2 separate regions of the Homo sapiens genome follow, and region 1 is linked to region 2. The links are contacts of gene promoters, found by promoter capture Hi-C in blood cells and fetal thymus (Javierre and others, 2016). All regions are on one chromosome and are shown on one strand. The core of a region is centred on a gene start or on the middle of the fragment in contact, and the rest is flanking DNA. Distances in the headings are between cores, read along the strand shown. Region 1 overlaps KCNAB1 (potassium voltage-gated channel subfamily A regulatory beta subunit 1). Region 2 holds the start of LEKR1 (leucine, glutamate and lysine rich 1).

Region 1 (5,339 bases), core at 1,038-3,537, 670 kb after region 2:
TCTTGGGCCACATTGTATCAGCCTGAACTCCAGAGGGGCCAGAGACTAAGGTCAAACACACAGGTAGTCAGCCGTGTCTACATGGCCAAACCCAAATAAAAACTCTGGACACCAAGGTTCAGGTAAGCTTCCCAGTTCCTGAGAGAAATAAGCACTATCCACACAACTCCAGTGGGAAAGGACAATTGGAAGCTCCATTCCTGGTTCTCCTGGACCCAACCCTAGGTACCTCTTCCTGATGCTAATTTTAATCTGTATCTTTTTGCTGTAATAAACCACGACCATGAGCATAATGACTTTGCTGAGTTCTGTGAGTCCTTCTAGTGAATCACTGAACCTGAGAGCATTCTTGAGGACCTCCTGAACTTTCAATTCTCCCCTTTACCTTCTTGACATCATTTCTTACTATTCTACCATTCATTCACTCTGCCCTTGACACACTGGCTGTTTTTGTTTCTTTCTACAGACTTTCACACTGGGCTTTTGCATATACTGTTCCTTCTGTCTATAATACTCTTTACCCCGGAAACTTCAATGATTGTCATTTCTACCTCCTTCAGGTACTTATTCAAATGCTGTCTTCTCAGTGAGGCCTTCCTTGGCTATGTTATTTAAAATGGCAACTGCTCCCTGTCACAAATACTCATCCTCCTTCTGTGCTTTGTGTTTCTCCAGAGAATTTATGCTTCTAAAGTATTATAAATTTTATTTATTTATTTTTGTTCATTAACTGGCACGTCCCCACTAGAATTAAATCCTTTAAAAAGCAGAGAACTTAGCCTAAGTGTTCACTGCTGTATCTCCAATGCCTGGAATTGTGCATAACTCAAGGTGAGCACTCAATGGAGAGCTGTTGGATGAATCTGTGTGAGGGGTGGTGGCAGGGCAGGGGGGATAGGTAGATGGTTCAGTAAAAATAGATAGTGTACCAAAAACAGCGAGGCTTGACTAGTGGTCATACAAAATAGCTTTGTAAAGAGTGTCACCAATGTATCATATAATTTGTATTAGTAAATTTGGCTGCATGAACCTGTTTTTCCATCTTGTATAAGAATATGTTTTGGATTATCCAACAATTTAAATGAGACAGTCATGAGACATATTAGGGAAAATATTTAACCCATACAGGATCCAGAACCCAAGAAGTGGTGAACATTAGGTCAGAAATGGAAGGCCCTTGGAGAGGTACCTGTGAAGAAGGGGCAGAAAGAAGATAGCTGGATTCTGTCCACTGTAATGAGTCTCACCCAGGCTCCTGCAGGTAACCAACCCTCTGAAGTAGAAACGCATGACCCCTCCACTGCCATTGCCCAGTCCCAGCAGCACTGACTACCTTTGCTGAGTCAAATGGGCCAGGGTCTTGCCAAAGTGGTAGAGTAGGGCAGACTTAAGTAAGAAAACCCATGGATCTGATGATACCACCAAGGACCAGCCTGCAACTATTAATTACCAGTGAAAGAGTGTTTCAGTTGTAGGTCAAATAGTTGATGGGAAAGTCTGATCTATACCAAGAACAAGAAGTCTAACCAGAACCCACACTCATCCACAATTACTGAATAGACAGAAAATCCTCTGGCGCATTTATCTAGGAGGACGAGTCAGCTAGGAATCCCAACAGGTAAGCTAGCTCTCCACACTTGTCCCCCATAGTTCGGAGGATGACAACTGGCTGCTACAATGAGATGATGACCCCTCCTGTAATAAGATGGAAAGGCGAAATGAGGAAAAGAGTAAACTTAAAGAGGACTTGCCAGTGGGATTGAGGGACAACTGGTAGAAAGGGAAAGAAGAGCTAGCTGGTGGTGAGAGGAGTGGAGAAGGAGAGGCCCATGGCTCTGTAATATGAGTGTGTTAGACATCTGCACTACTATCTGCACTACTTCTGGTGACCTTAGTCAGACTGTAATCAGCTAAACCTCCCTCAGAAAGCACCACCTCTAAGTGGAAACAGGAATTCACACTGAGTGAAAGCAACGAGTGTCTCATTCTGGTCAAGGTAACTCAAGGCCCCACTATGAATAGGCCTGGGCAGCAACACATGGAGAACTTTTTTGGAGGAAAGTACAATGAGAAATCTATGTTACTTAGAGTTTTCCAGATAAACACAACTAACAGGAGATGGATAAATTCATAGATAAATGGATAGATAGGGATTGACTGATTAATTGATTGATTATAAGGAACTAGCTCATGCAACTGTGGAGGCTGAGAACTCCCAAGAATAGCAGTTGGCAAGTTGGAGATGCAAGAGAGCCAATAGTGTAATTCTGATCCAAATCTGAAGGCCTGAGATTCAGGTGGGTCAATGGTGTAAGTTTGGACCCAAAAGCCGGAAGGCTCAAGACTTGACTCAAGAAGAGCTGATGTTTCAGTTCAACTCTGAAAGCAGAAATAGACCGATGTCTCAGATCCAACAATCAGGCAGAAGGAATACCCTCCTACTTGTGAGAGGTCAGCGTTTTTGTTCAACTTCAAATGACTGGATGACGCCCAACCACAGTGGGGAGGGCAGTCTGCTTTACTCAGTCCACCAATTCCAATGTTAATTTCATGCAAAAACACCTTCACAGACACACACAGAATAGTGTTTGACCAAATGTCTGGGCACCCTGTGGCCCAGTCAAACTGACACAAAATTAATCATCACAAACTTAATGAATGATTGAAGTAAATGAGCAAATTAAGGTTAAACAAAATGGATATCTCAGAAGAAACAAACATACAGTGGGCTATGCCATGATGAGCATGATATGGTCACCTCAAAGCATCTTAAAATCCAAGATTTAAGGACCTATTTCCTACGAGAACAATGTCATCCTCAAGTATCACTATCTCAAATAAGGATACTTGGATTTTTGGTAAAGAGAGAAAGTTAGGAAGTGAGCGCTGGGGAGACTATGGATCCTGGTGAAGTGGTGCCCTGTGACTGATATCCAGCGGCTTGTCCTCCAGTGAACATTGAAGGTTTATTTGTTAGACTCCTGCTTAATAATTTATTTATTCAGCAAATATTTATTGAGCTCTACACTAGATGTCAGATTCTGGGAATGCAGTAATTAACTATACAGATAAAATCCCTGCCCTTTTGGAATTCACATTCCAGTGAGAGAGACAGACAATACAGAAATAAACAAATAAGTGCGCCAAAAGGAAAAATAGAGGTAGAGGAAGAAAGTGCTAGCATGGAATGTTACAAAGAAGTTACAACGAGAGTTAACCTTTTGGGAAGTTACGTATAAAGGTGCCCATCTTATACAATGGTCATCTCTGGAAGTAATCATAGCTCTGTTTTGAAACCGTAACTAGCTTCTAGAGGCATGTATTGTCACTATGCACTGAGTTATAGAGTGCCGTAAAATTCCAAAAGCAGGGTGAATCACTGACCTGTTACAAACCCTTCAAATGCTAAACGGAGAGCTTGGATACTTAATGAGCTGCACATTTTACACCCACACTCTACAATTGTCAGAGCTTCTATCTCATCTGCCTTAGCAAATTAAGAGGAATATCATGAAGGAGAAAATGACAGAAGACAATTGGGTCAAAATCCATTGTCTAAAAATGTTCCATCTAGCCCATTGAGAACCTGCATCTTTCTGAAAGCTCCCACCCCTCCCACAGTGGGTTCACCAGAAGCTAAGGCCAGAATCCATACTCCCGTCACTCTGAATCCAGCTGGTATCAGGCCTCTCCTTCGGCTGCCACTTCAGCCTCTTGGGATGGTTTCCTAACCCAGCTCATTTATGGGCACCTGACTTAGGGGCTAGACAATCCTGAGGTAACCGTGTCTGTGGTCCATCAGTGCTCAGAGGGCCTTACCCCTCTTAACGCCTGGTGACTCCCTTTTAACACACCTACCACTAACACCCACCCTCAGGGGATGTGCTGAGCACAGGGACACAGGGGACCGGATTTATGTAGGCTAATAAGGTCAGCAGGCCTATGAGATCCCTCAGCTTTGGGCCTAAAGTTCCAGAAGAAAACGTGGTAACCCTCGCTGGGTAGCTGTGGGAGACACAGTCGTTGTCAGGGACACGGTAACAATATCCAGGAGACCTTCCTGCAGGCATAACAATTGTGTGGCACCACAGCGCCACCTCCCAACCCAAGGCGGACTTGCAATTAGTCATAGTCTTTCCTTTGACCTCCTTCCTATACTAAAATTAATTTCTCCTGAACTGTTCCAGATTGAAGGAGACCTAAAAGATATGACAACAAAATATTGCCATCCAATACTGATCCTGTACAACTGGAGTAAAAAAATGCCACAAAGAGCATTATTGTGTCAGCTGACAAAATTAGAATACAATGGTAGATTAAAATATCATATTTATGTAAATTTTACCAAAGTTGTTAATTGTATTGGGGATAAGAAAATATCATAACTATTAAGAGATACTGAGGACTAAAAAGCCATGATGTGTGCAACTTAGTTTTAAAAAGCTTGGAAAAATAAATGGAGAGGTGGGTTGTAAGGAGTGAGCATGTGAGAGCATGAACAAAAGTTAAAGCAAATGGGGCAAAATGTTAACAATATGTTAAGGAATAAATAGCCCAGATGTGTTCTTTATATTATTTTAGCAACTTTTCCTTATGTTTGAAATTATTTTCAGATAAAAATTTTAAAATAGTTCTGGCCTTAAGTACTAGACAGTTTGTCTAAAAATAACCTGTACTCCCATCATTAGGGATTCATTTCTTTGGATGATATATTTTGCAGACACTCTATTAAAAAGCATCTATATTTTAAAACTTAGGGAGAATTAGTTGGTAACTAGATAAGGAGAGGAAGAGGAATCACTGGATGGGAGGCACTCGCTCTAAGTGTGGAGAGGTGACACGTGATATGTGAAAACAAACAGTGGGTACAGAGGAGGGCCATCTCCTAACTTGGTGATGAGCCAGGCCCACAAGACCATGGTTCTGAGAGCATTGACAGGCTTTGATATGGCCTTCTCCCGTGCAGTCCAGATAGCACACACGTTCCAGTCTGCTCCATCTTAACTGTGTAACAAGGTGCCTGCACCTGAGGTGGGGCTGACACCAACAGAATATTCTCTGAAAGATGGTAGGGGATGAGATGTCTACTTTTCCTTTCTTCACCAGCCATGCCCAGAGGTCTGTGGTGTAGCTCAGAACCCCCTACGCTAGAAAACTCCCAGACATAGAAAATTTGCTCTATAAAATATCTAACTGGGTTAGGTTATAATAACATAGGCTTGCCATGGAATCTAGGCTTCTCAGAACCTTAGGAATATGCTGGTCTTACCTTTTTAATTTTTTTCTCACTATATAAAATTTCCCATTGTCATAATCAAGGTAAATACATAGATTCAAAT
Region 2 (5,515 bases), core at 659-3,158:
ATAGTGGCATTATCTTTGTAAATGGTGCAACCACTAGTGGAAGAGAAGATTCCTTGTTCCCTGTGTTAGCACAAAGACTCATTTCAGTGAGTTGCTGTTTAAAACCAAAAACTAATGAGCTTTATGTCTTCCCACATAAAACATAATATGACATGTGTGGTAAAGTTAACTGAGGTCTGCAATGGAGGTACCATTAACCATGTCAACATAAGCCCAAACATAATCTGATGTTTGGCAGATTGTCATAATCATGTGGCAAGAGCCCAGAAGGCTCATTATTCTCATTTCTGTCATTTAATGGTGGATTTGCCATCAGTAAAATGAAATAGTAACTTCAACTCTATTGGGAGAATTTTCCAAAAAATTACCATCTAAACATCCTTTTAAAATTTCACCCATAAAGTTATCTGAGAGCACGGATCTAAATGACAGTATAAACAAAGCACCAGTAGAACAGTTTTTGTGTAGTGCCTTCATTGTCTGTGAATCTATTCCAACTTTATGGCCTTAGCATAAGAAGGGGAGGAATTGGCAGGTTCTGATTATCGGGGGGAAACTAAAAATTAAAAGTCCTGCCAACCCAGAAAATGCTCCACAATGCAGAAAGACAACAATTTTATTAGGCATTCAACTAGACTTTGATGCACATCACGGCTAATCTGCTAATGAGGTTACAAAGAGAGAAGGAAATCCCTCTTTTATACAGCCAAGGAGACACAATCCATTACACATTCTCAAGGAAACTGGTAACGTGTCCTCATGTAAGAGGGCTTAACATAGTGTTCTATACATTCTTTTATATTTCCTCTTTAATTCATCTGGTAATTGGGGTAACCACCTGTGTTAGCTAACGGCTTTCCTCCTAAGTAATGCACAGCTCCATAACGAAACAGGTGTTTACAATTAGGAATAACGCACCTAGGTTAAACTCCCAAAGTGACAAGGAGACTGGGGCCCTATCTTCCTTGATGTTTACATTTTAAAGAAATGGCTTCCAGGTCCTCAAGAAAAGCATTCCTAGGTCTTTAAAAACATTTGCATACATATTAAATAGAGGAAGCATTCACAAATACTAAGTTTCTCAAGAAAAAAGAAGGGTCTTTCCCTTTTGGCAACAGGGAAAATCTGTAATTTTTTAAATTTAGTCTTACATAGTTTTGCGTGTGTTATCAAACAAGTCCCTTTAATCCTTTCTCATTGCACGTATGTGGACCGCACTTTGGCAAGAGGTGCAGTGATAAGTGGCTGCAGCTACGTGGGTGTTTGTGAACCTCCTCTCTAACAAGATCACCGAAAAGACATTTTTTAAAATGCAGACACGTCCTTGTTCGTTTCCAATTCCGTTTCTCACACTAGTGTCACGTCAGGCCATTAACTCACGTTCAGCTTTCAAGCCCTTACGTAAAGAACCATTCCCATGGCGTGAATCACCCACAACGAGCAGGTCAGGGGCAGGTGAAGGCGGGAGTTCACATCCTAAGACTTTCCTGAAGCGGCAGGCTCTTCCACACAGAAACCAACCGCAAGGCCAGACAAAACTGCTGGAATGGCTTTCAAATCTGTCCCTTTCTAACCCCGTTCCCCCTGGACCTGCAGTGGCCGGAAGAGGAGGAGGAGGAGGGTGCGGGGGTGAGGAAGCAGAGCCGCGCGTTCCCCGGGGCTGGGAGGAAGGCGGACCGCGCCTGGGCCCCGCGGGCTGGCAGACACCAGGAAGGGGCCGCAGAGGAGCGTGGTGGCGGAGTCCAGACCCGGGGCCTCGTGCTCTCGCTGGGGCGCCGCGGCTCAGCTTTCTGGCTCTCTCCCCGGGTGCGAGCACGCCTCCACTCCGGAACTGCATTTGGAGGACCGGGTCATCCCAGGCTGAGGAAAGCCATCGTCCCTCACCTCGACTTCGACTAGGACGGGTGTGAAACGGCTTTCCCGGTCTCCCGGGCGACCGCGCCGCCAGTCGGCTGGACGTCAGGGCGCGGCGACGTCACGGCCCACGTCTGTCGTCAACGCTCCCCTGCACCGCCCAGGGTCTCACGCGCCGGGCGGAAGTGGGAAAACTGGTGGTGGGGCTCGGAAGGCTGGGCTAGTCTTACGCGGAATGCTGTGAGAGGGAGGGAAGGGGATCGAGGGATGAGGTGGGCGAGAGTGGGTCGGGTGCTTGGTAGCGACTGCTGAGATGGAGGGAGCTGTCCCAGCCTCGTGGGGGGTTGGAGAGAGGCACTGCCGGGAGTCGGGAGTCGGGAGCCTATAGCCCTACCTATCACCCCTTGCTCTGGGGCCTATGTGGTAGACACAGCAGTGAGCAGTTACTGTTCTTGAGCAGAGGAAAAAGAGATGCCTGTAGAGGTCATGGGTGTAAAGGGAAGTTCTGGTTTCAGTCATTACAGCCAGGACAAATTAATTGGGAAGGCGTTGGTGACATTTCCATTCTAGTCCAAAGTAGTGAAGATTAAGGGCTTAGTTCAAAAAGTATTTTGAGACCTCCTAGTCTACACTTTATTTATCGCAGGCTACCCACCCTTACACGTGACTAACTTCCCTTTGTTCATACATTCATTCATAAAACAAGTATTTATAGACCTACTACGCGACAAGCAGAGCAGCATACCGAGATAGGGTGATACTCTGTGACTGGTCAAGGCAGGAGCAGCCATTGGTGTAATTAGCAGGTGACTCATTCGTAGTCCAGATCTTGCCTTTCTGAGGATTATATAAGGTCGAAGTACAGTTCTTCCAAGAACCAAAGAAAACATCGATGGCTCTGTAGCAGGCAAAGAGACTGGTTTGCTATTGAATAAAATAAGATTAAGTAAATACAAAGAAAATTAATTGAACCTATAGATTTAGAGAAGTGATTAAATGACGCAGAGCAGTATCGGTACACCAAACTGCTTATTGATAACTACTAATTAATGACACCAGGAAGTACTGAACACTAGTGCCTTGTTCCTTGGCACTAAAAAGTCTAGTAGATGTGGCTGGGCGCGGTGGCTCGGGCCTGTAATTCCAGCACTTTGGGAGGCCAAGGCGGGCAGATCACAAGGTCAGGAGATCGAGATCATCCTGGCTAACACGGTGAAACCCCGTCTCTACTAAAAATACAAAAAAGTAGCCGGGCGTGGTGGCGGGCGCCTGTAGTCCCAGCTACTTGGGCTACTCGGGAGGCTGAGGCAGGAGAATGGCGTGAACCTGGGAGGCAGAGCTTACCCTGAGCCGAGATAATGCCACTGCACTCCAGCCTGGGCGACAGACCAAGACTCAGTCTCAAAAAAAAAAAAAAAAAAAAAAGTCTAGTAGATGTATCTTGTACATTTAACCTGACTGATATTTTTGCCCCAATGCCTACCCTTGATTTTCTGTTTCCACTCCCTCAAAGAAGAAAGGATTAAGAGGCCTAGAGGACAGTCAACCAAGTGGTCAACTATAACATGCTTATGAGAAGCCCAAATAACTTTCAGAGCTATTCATCCTCGTCATATTTATCTGAGAGATAGTGAGGGTAGGACTGCTCTCATTTTGTGATAATGGAAGTTTAGATACAGGGCACCAAAACTGGTACCTATCTGGGACAGGAATTTGCACACCTAATGCAAGATCACTCTGTTCTGAGGCTAGTTTTCTTTATTGAGTACTTTGTTTATAGGATAAGGAAAGGCAACACTTTAAGGATGGGAGAAAATCCAGCTCAAAGGCTGCAGTTCACTCCTTGGTTTAATTTCATCTGTGTTTATTTGTCTGCATATTGCCTTTGAGACCAATTTCCTTTCCACTGTAAATTTCCCTTAGACCTGCACTGTCCAGTAAGGTGGCCTCATGTAACTAATTTCACTAAAATGAAGTATGTTTAAAAATTCCATTGCTATATTGCATTAGCCATATTTTAAGTACTCAGTAGTCATGTAGGTAATGTATGATACACCATAGATACTGAACATTTTCATTATCATAGAAAGTTGGGCTGGGCGTGGTGGTTCATGCCTATAATCCCAGAGCTTTGGCAGGCTGAGGCAGGAGGATCTCTTGAAGCCAGGAGTTTGAGACTGGCCTGGGCAATATAGTGAGACTCTGTCACTATAAAAAAAAAAAAAATTAGCATGGTGTGGTGACACACACCTGTAGTCTTTACTCAGAAAGGCCTAGGTGAGAGGATCACTTGAGCCCAGGAATTTGAGGCTGCAGTCTATGATCTGGCCACTGCACTCCAGTCTAGGTGACAGAGCCCGACCCTGTCTCTTAAAAAAAGAAAACAAAGAAAAAGAAAGTTGGAAAGCAGTAGACCCCAGTAAGAATTTCAAAGGATAAGAGTTAAGTTGTGATGAATGACATTTTTTAAAGCGTAGCAGCAAAAAGTGTTATTCCTGAAAGAAGATAGTGCAAAGGAAGTGTTGTGACAAGATGTTACAAAATAGGTTTAAGAAAAAAAAAAAAGCCACGAATCCTGTGCCCTATGTTGGTGTTTTGTCTTGGTCTCTCCCTTTTCAGGTTTCTCACTTGCCCTCCCTCTGTCTTCCCACCCCATTACTGTCCATACTAGAATTGAAGTACAATTTAAAATAATCCCATCATTGGGCATATTAAATAAAGTTTTGGGTTACCCCATTAGTTTTTAATTGAGCTAATTTTCACTTTTTACTTCGACTTTTAAAAATTATCCAGTAATAGCCAAATTAAGCTGCTGTTAACTTCTTTTTATGACCCTTTATTCCCCGCTCCCAACCCCGTATTGTCAGTGATCCCTGGGGAAGGAAATGCTCTCAGTTTTTGGAATAGAGACGCTCTAAAGCGACTAACCTAGGGCTTTCCACATGGTCTGCAGAACTTTGTGTTGGTTTATGAGGACACAGTGTCTGTGCTTTTGTTACTGTTGTGAATTTACATAAAATATGTATCCAGCAGGGAAATGTCGTTCTTCACTTCAAAAAGTAGTTTTATGCTCCCTCCTTTGTTTCCTCCTCCCCCACCATGAAAAGCATGTAGAAGAGGTATGTTGCCTGCAATTCTGATAAAAATGTAGGAACTCTATCCAAGCGAGAGGCGACAGCGTGCTGGCAGTCCTCAGAGCCCTTGCTCGCTCTTGGCGCCTCCTCTGCCTGGGCTCCCACTTTAGTGGCACTTGAGGAACCCTTCAGCCCACTGCTGCACTGTGGGAGCCCCTTTCTGGGCTGGCCAAGGCCAGAGCTGGCTCCCTCAGCTTGCAGGGAGGTGTGGAGGGAGAGGGGCGAGCGGGAACTGGGGCTGCGCGCCGTGCTTGCGGGCCAGCTGGAGTTCCGGGTGGGCGTGGGCTTGGCAGGCCCCGCACTCGGAGCAGCCAGCCGGCCCTGCCAGCCACGGGCAATGAGGGGCTTAGCACCCAGGCCAGTGGCTGTGGAGGTTGTACTGGGTCCCCCCGCAGTGCCAGCCCACTGGCGCTGCACTCGATTTCTCGCTGGGCCTTAGCTGCCTTCCCGTGGAGCAGCGCTCGGGACCTGCAAGCCCGCCATGCCTGAGCCTCCCACCCCCTCCGTGGGCTCCTGTGCCGCCGGAG

Evidence for each region. Contacts are between HindIII fragments. The CHiCAGO score rates a contact against its expected background, and 5 or more counts as called.
Region 1: a contact is called between a fragment that was not itself captured here and the fragment with the promoter of LEKR1 in region 2, in 2 of 17 cell types (total CD4 T cells and total B cells). The highest score is 7.8, in total CD4 T cells.

Annotation. Positions count from the first base shown.
Region 1 is chr3:156,150,760-156,156,098 of GRCh38, reverse strand. The region is part of intron 1 of KCNAB1 (potassium voltage-gated channel subfamily A regulatory beta subunit 1); the gene reads right to left. Among named protein-coding and RNA genes, the nearest start is that of KCNAB1, 33 kb to the right of the region's middle. The HindIII fragment of the contact is 4,316 bases long and covers 130-4,445 here.
Region 2 is chr3:156,822,746-156,828,260 of GRCh38, reverse strand. LEKR1 (leucine, glutamate and lysine rich 1) reads right to left here and starts at 1,908. Exons shown (of 13, transcript NM_001004316.3): 1 at 1,885-1,908. RefSeq lists a silencer at 767-1,061 and an enhancer at 1,376-1,435. The HindIII fragment of the contact is 11,302 bases long and covers 1-5,515 here.